Regions from separate parts of the Homo sapiens genome. Here region 1 is linked to region 2. The links are contacts of gene promoters, found by promoter capture Hi-C in blood cells and fetal thymus (Javierre and others, 2016). All regions are on one chromosome and are shown on one strand. The core of a region is centred on a gene start or on the middle of the fragment in contact, and the rest is flanking DNA. Distances in the headings are between cores, read along the strand shown. Region 1 overlaps DIS3L2 (DIS3 like 3'-5' exoribonuclease 2). Region 2 holds the start of NPPC (natriuretic peptide C).

What was found. The method cuts DNA at HindIII sites, captures the fragments that hold promoters and counts their contacts. A CHiCAGO score of 5 or more calls a contact.
Region 1: a fragment that was not itself captured here is called in contact with the fragment with the promoter of NPPC in region 2 in 6 of 17 cell types (M1 macrophages, erythroblasts, naive CD8 T cells and 3 more); the score reaches 7.1 in M1 macrophages.

The regions. Positions count from the first base shown.
Region 1 is chr2:232,206,428-232,209,558 of GRCh38, forward strand. The region is part of intron 9 of DIS3L2 (DIS3 like 3'-5' exoribonuclease 2); the gene reads left to right. Among named protein-coding and RNA genes, the nearest start is that of MIR562, 35 kb to the left of the region's middle. The HindIII fragment of the contact is 3,452 bases long and covers 36-3,131 here.
Region 2 is chr2:231,924,606-231,927,645 of GRCh38, forward strand. NPPC (natriuretic peptide C) reads right to left here and starts at 1,791. Exons shown (of 3, transcript NM_024409.4): 1 at 1,555-1,791; 2 at 800-1,110. The coding sequence starts at 1,644. The coding sequence ends at 820. RefSeq lists silencers at 685-774, 855-904, 1,860-2,079 and an enhancer at 2,481-3,040. The HindIII fragment of the contact is 15,333 bases long and covers 1-3,040 here.

The DNA.
Region 1 (3,131 bases), core at 512-3,011, 280 kb after region 2:
CCATTGTATAGAAAAAGTGTGGCTGTGTACAATAAAGCTTTATTTGTGCGTAGTGCAATTTGAATTTCCACAATCATTTTTGTGTCACAAAATAGTATTCTTCTTTTGATTTTTTATTTTTTAGTCATTTAAACATGCAAAAACTGTTCTCATCTTGCAGGTCACTCACAAACAAGTGGCAGGCCAGATTTGACCAGTGTAGTATGGTTTGCCAATTCCTGATCAGGAATAATGTTTGGATGGCTTATCTTTCCAGCAAGCAAGCCTTCCTGAGTACTGTTTGTCAGGTTCCATTTTAATTTAGACTTTTATGTTTCTGGTTTAAGAGCAGATTTTTAAAAAGTGTTAAAGGTAATAGAGAGTTGGTTTGAGTCCTTACAGGCTAGTCTAGGATTTTTCTTAGAAAGCAGTTGTGGGGGCTCCCAAAGAAGACATTTACAAACTAACAAAGTCTTACACGGTCACATATGGTGGGATCAACTTCAGGCTGGAAATGTCTAAATGGGAATTATCATTCATGCACTGGATCCATAGAAATGAAAGTCTCAAAGCACCCAGAGACGTTTAATTTTAAGAAATTAAAACTTCCTAGTCAACCCTCCAAGTAACCTAGTAAACGATGGCTTCCCACCTCCAACCAAGCTAATGGAGTTCTTTTTGATTTTGACTAGGGGAACATTTTTTTGGCTTTTTATGATGTCATTATGATAAAAGAAGAAGACCCAAACATTCCTACTACCATGTCTGACTTTTTAGTTTCAGTTATACCAGTATTTTTTATTGAGTACTCAGTGTATATAAAACATTTGGTTAGATTTTATGGGAGATATCAAAAGGAGAAAGAAGTGGACACTTCCTTCTTTACCTTGTGAGCCAAGTTCAAGATCCTCATCAATTACAGCCCATTGCTGTGGTGCCAGGTCTGATTTCACCTCCTGGGCACTTCCTATTACCATCAATCTGTTCATTCAACAAACATGTCTGAGGTGCAGCCTCTGTTCAAGGCTCTGGGAACACAGCCCTCGGAGCACGCATTCCAGGAGATCAGTGTTTCTCTTCTCCTCTGGCACTCTTGCTTACAACCTCTTTTATATAGTGGAACCAAAATTACTTCTGTATATCTTGAGGCTTCAACCTTCATGTTGCCTACACTGTGTGTGACTCTCCTCGAAATATTTAGAGGGAGAGTGGGTCTCCTGATTAATCACCCTTTCTGGGATCTGCACTCTAAATGCTCTCGTTCCCTCCACCTGAATGGCACCTACCTTTCCCTGCCCTATTTTCTTAGTGTCCAGTAGGGACACAGTTTTTACCAGATCCATAATCTTAAAGCCATTAACTATATTAAGCCAAATGCATCTTGTAACAAATGTTACAAGATAGCTAAATATATGTACAAACAATATATTTACAAACAAACAATAATACATATCTGATCAATTGTTTTTTGATTAAGGAAGATTCTCTATAGTTTTGATTTTTTCCATTTACAAAAGTAATATTCAATTGCAGTGAAAAATTTTAAAAATATGAAAAAGTACACATTAAAGGGAAAAAAATTAATCCATAAATCTAGCACCCGTCGATCAACCCTATGAATATTTAACATATATGTTTTACTCTTCTTGATTTGAAAGTCACATGAATTTTTTAAAAAAATAGTAAACATTAAAATTGACCTTCTTTTGCTGTATGTAAAATTCTGTGAATTTTAAGACATGCATAGATTTAGTTCCACTCCCCCTGCTGCCCCCGCACAAGCGTACCTTTCCCAGTTCTGGCAACCACTGATCTGCTCTCTGTCTTATCTCTGTTTTCATTCCGTTCCGTTCCTCTCCTCTTCTTCTCCTCTCCTCTTCTTATCCCCTCTCCTCCCCCCACCCTTTTTTGTTTTTGTGTTTGAGACCAAGTCTTGCTCTGTTGCCCAGGCTGGAATGCAGTGGCACAATCTTGGCTCGCTGCAACCGCCACCTCCCGGGTTCAAACAATTTTCCTGTCTCAGTCTCCTGAGTAGCTGGGACTACAGGCGTGTGCCACCATGCCCGGCTAATTTTTGTATTTTTAGTAGAAACGGGGTTTCACCATGTTGGCCAGTCTGGTTTTGAACTCCCGACCTCAGGTGATCTGCCCACCTTGGCCTCCCAAAGTGCTTTGTTTTCTTTTTGAGAGTGGCTCTTTTCACTTAGTTCAATACCTTTGAGATTCATCCAGGCTGTTGCATTTATGAATAATTTGTTAATTTTTGTTGCTAAATACTGTTCCATTTTGGGGGTATACCACAGTCTGGTTATCCATTTACCATTTAAGATTACTTTTTGGGTTGGGCATCGTAGCTCACACCTGTAATCCCAGCACTTTGGGAGGCCAAGTTGAGAGGATCCCTTGAAGCCAGGAGTTTGAGATCAGCCTGGGGAACAGAGTGAGATCCTGTTTCTACAAAAAGTTTTAAAACTACTCCAGTGTGGTGGCATGCACCTATACTGTCAGCTGCTTGGGAGTCTGAGGTGGGAGGATTATTTGAGCTCAAGAGGTTGAGGCTGCAGTGAGCCATACAAAAAAAAAGGTTATTATTATTTTTTAAACATTTGACATTTCTGAAATTCTGAAGTATCTTAAAATTAATGTATATATTTAATGTGGTGGGGTTTTTATTTCTCCAAAAGCTATTACAGAATTGATGGCGCATCTTATAATTAATACTCTCTTAGGATGGAAGTATTGTGGTTAGGATTAGAGAGGGCTGTTGGGAGTTACTAGGAGTAGGGTAAGTGGACAGTTAAGAGTCGGATAGAGAAAGGTCCCAAGAGCTTGTGGCAGGCCAGCATTAGAGCAGCTTGGCAGCCTCTGAAGACAGGGTCTCGCTCTATTGTCCAGGCTGGAGTGCAGTGGCCCAATTATAGCTCACTGCTGCCAAGGAGGTTTTGAACAGAGGAGCAACACCAGGGAAGAAGTCTTTAAGAACAAAGCCTGTCTTACCATGGTTAGTACAAGTATGGGCAACATCATCAGTGTTGATGAATGAGGAAAAGACAGAGAAATGGTGGCAGTGCACTGCTAGTACTGGATGGAGTGGAGGAAGAACCTAGGAAGCAGTGAGCACCGACTAGAGTGTGGCATGGGGGCAGAAGGGC
Region 2 (3,040 bases), core at 541-3,040:
CTGCAGCAGTAAATTACCACCACGCGGCACCCGGCAGGGGGTGGCGGTAGGGCAGAGGTTTCCAGCCCTAGTGCGGGGTGAGACCCCACACCAGAAACGGAGCCCAGAGCACCGGTTGGGTCGGGACAGGGTTGGTGAGGGACTCTGGGACGTGTTGAGTTCGAGGCTGGGGCAAATAATATTTACTTTAGTGTCTTTCCTATTCCCTGAAATAGTGCCACAAGCACTGAGATTCACCCCCGAAGCCACCAGGCTGCAGCTGCCTCAGGACCCTGGACAGACCAGTTTGCCCACTGCCTGGGTTTAGAGAAGGGACAGGAATCGGAGTGTCCCAGGCAGAAGGGCGCTCTGACAGTGCCAGCAGAGGGCTACTCTCACTACAGGGGGCATGGTGGCCAGCAGATGATCGATGTCCCCTGGACTTGTGGGTGTAACCTTCCTTCTCTGCTCCCACAAACCCATGATCTCCTCTCAATCCCCCCACCAGCTGGCCAATAGGGGCCAGTGCTGCTAGTTCAGCTACGGTTCAGGGGTGGGTGAGACACCACCAAGCCTGTTTCTGCTTCTCCAGAAGAAGCCAGGTGGGTTCAACCAGGCTGAGCCGTTTCTGACCTTGCCAAAGTTCCCCGATCACGTTATCCTTCGCTTTCTTTGTCTGTAAAGTGGGATAATAAAGGGGGCGGCTGGCAAACGCCTAGCACAACTTGAGCAAAGGCGGCTCGCGCGCCTCCGAAGGCCGGCTGGGCGGCGGGCGGTCCCGGGCCGGGCTGGGGCTGGGCGTCGGGTGGGCCGTACTCACCGCCGCCAGGGGGCGCCGCACTAACATCCCAGGCCGCTCATGGAGCCGATTCGGTCCAGCTTGAGGCCGAAGCAGCCCTTGGACAAGCCCTTCTTGTTGGCTCCTTTGTATTTGCGCGCGTTGGGGTGCTCTTGCAGAAGGCGAGCCCACGCTGCCCGCGACTTGGTGTCCACGCGCAGGTCCCGGAGCAGTCGCGACCGGTCGCCCTTGAGATTGGCGCCCCCGCCCCCGGGAGCCTTGTCGCCCTTCTTCTGACCGCCGCCCGCAGCCTGCGGCTCGGCCAGCTCCTCTGCCGGCGGGGTTCGCGGGACCTGTCCGAGGAAAGAGCGGGCAGGTGAAGGGACACGCGGCTGCAGCACGGGGGACTCTGATGCTCCAGCCCCACGCGCCCGCCGGCGCGGGGTGTCCCTCCCAAGCCCAGAGCCGCCCCCACCGATGCCGGCCAGCTTGGCCCCGCATCCACCTGCCACGCGGCCGCCTTCGCCGCTCCCTCCGGAAGCCCCCTGCCCTCCCTTTGCTGCTCGCCGGGCAGGCCACACTGGGGTAGGGGGCTGCGCATGGGCCGATGTTCTCCGGAGGCTGGAGAAGTGGACCCCCGAATCCGCGCTTCGAGGGCTCCCCGGCTCTCGCCCACGCGCATCTCGGAGGAGACAGCCGCCTGCCTTCCCTCTCTCCTGGGTCCTGCGCGCCGCATTCTCCAAGCCCCCAGCCTCCCACGCCTCTCCCAGGCTCGGCGTCCCCACGACAGCACCCACCTTCGGCGGCGCCCCGGGCTTGGCTTCGGAGGGCCGGAGGGAGAGCAGCGTGAGCAGCAGGGCGCAGGCCAGCAGCTGGGAGAGATGCATGGTGCCGCTGGGGTCGAGGGGCGCACACGGGCGGCAGCGAGGGCGCGCAGGTCGGCGGGCAGACCAGCAGGGGGATGCGGAGCAGGCTGGCTGGGCTGCAGGGCGAGCAGGGTCCCAGTGCTGCGCGGCGCCGGCTGGGTGCGCTCTGAGCCCGTGACTCTGCTCGCGCCTTTATAATCCAACCTGCCGCTGATGTCATCCTCCCGCCCACCGGGCCGCCCGGGCCAATGACACCACGCACGCGGCCGCGCCGAGGGCCGGGAGGGGGCCGCGGGGGCTCCCCTCCCTTATCCCACCCCGGAGGGATCCCGCGGCTCGGCGGGCTCGCTCCAGGCTGCACTTGGAGCTGCAGAGCTGAGCGCACAGGGGAACTCCATTTGCAGCGAGCGCGCGCCCTGGCCTGCCGAGCATCGGTGCGCCTGGTGCCCTGTGCACCCACTAGGTCCTCATCGCACTCACTCTACCTGGAAGGGATACGTAGCCCTCTTTGCAGGTGCAAAGACAGGCTCAGAGGAATGAAGTCACTTGCCCAAAGTCATACAGGCATAAAGTTGGCGCTGCCCGAAATCCACGCAGCCCTGCTTGTCGCCAAACTCTTCCCTGGGCACCTGACAGCCGCGGGATGGCATTGCAGCTCCGCCTTTCACCTGCCGGTCAGGGCGGGAGCGCAGACCACAGCGACGTCGTTAGGTTGGGGAGGCAGAGGATGGGGTTGGAGGACTGGGGTGGGAGGCGCAGGGAGAGCGGGGTTCGCCTGGGCCGCAGGGGGGAGCGCAAGTCTTCCACACTGGAGAGTGCAGGGGTGTCGCCAGCCTGAGTGTTTGAGCGCAAGGCGGGAACGAGGGGACTGCGAGCGCGGAACCAAGATATTCATGCTCATGCGTGTGCTCCGCGGCATCGTATGCTCGCCAGTTACTGCTCTAGGTTCACGTTCAGCCGGTTTCGGCCACACAGAACGTCCCGGGGTCTGACTCCGCTGGTGAACTCCCTCTGTGGGAACAATGCGCACCTGACCTTGCCTGCACCCACGCGAGGATCCGCTGCTGGGGGAAGCCCGCTCCAGTATCCTGTGCACTTTCACAGGCTGGGGAGAGAGCTTCCTAGCCAGCGGCCCAGTCCAGCCTCTGCCAGCCGTGACAGGTGGTCAACTTCCCGTTTTTGACTGTAGAGAGGTCCCCGTGGCTCTCGGGACATGGCCACATATCCCTACCACTCACGAACTTGCTCTCCTTGCACTGGGCTTCTCGGTCCCTTGGACACTAAGGAGTGTGGTGGGCATTTGGGCACTGCGGTGTGGGCCGCAGAGGCGGAGAGCCCAGATCCCCCGAATTGATTGAAGAGCAGGAATCTATGACTGGCTGCTGCTGAGCAGGACGCAGGCTGGAGAGAGAACAAA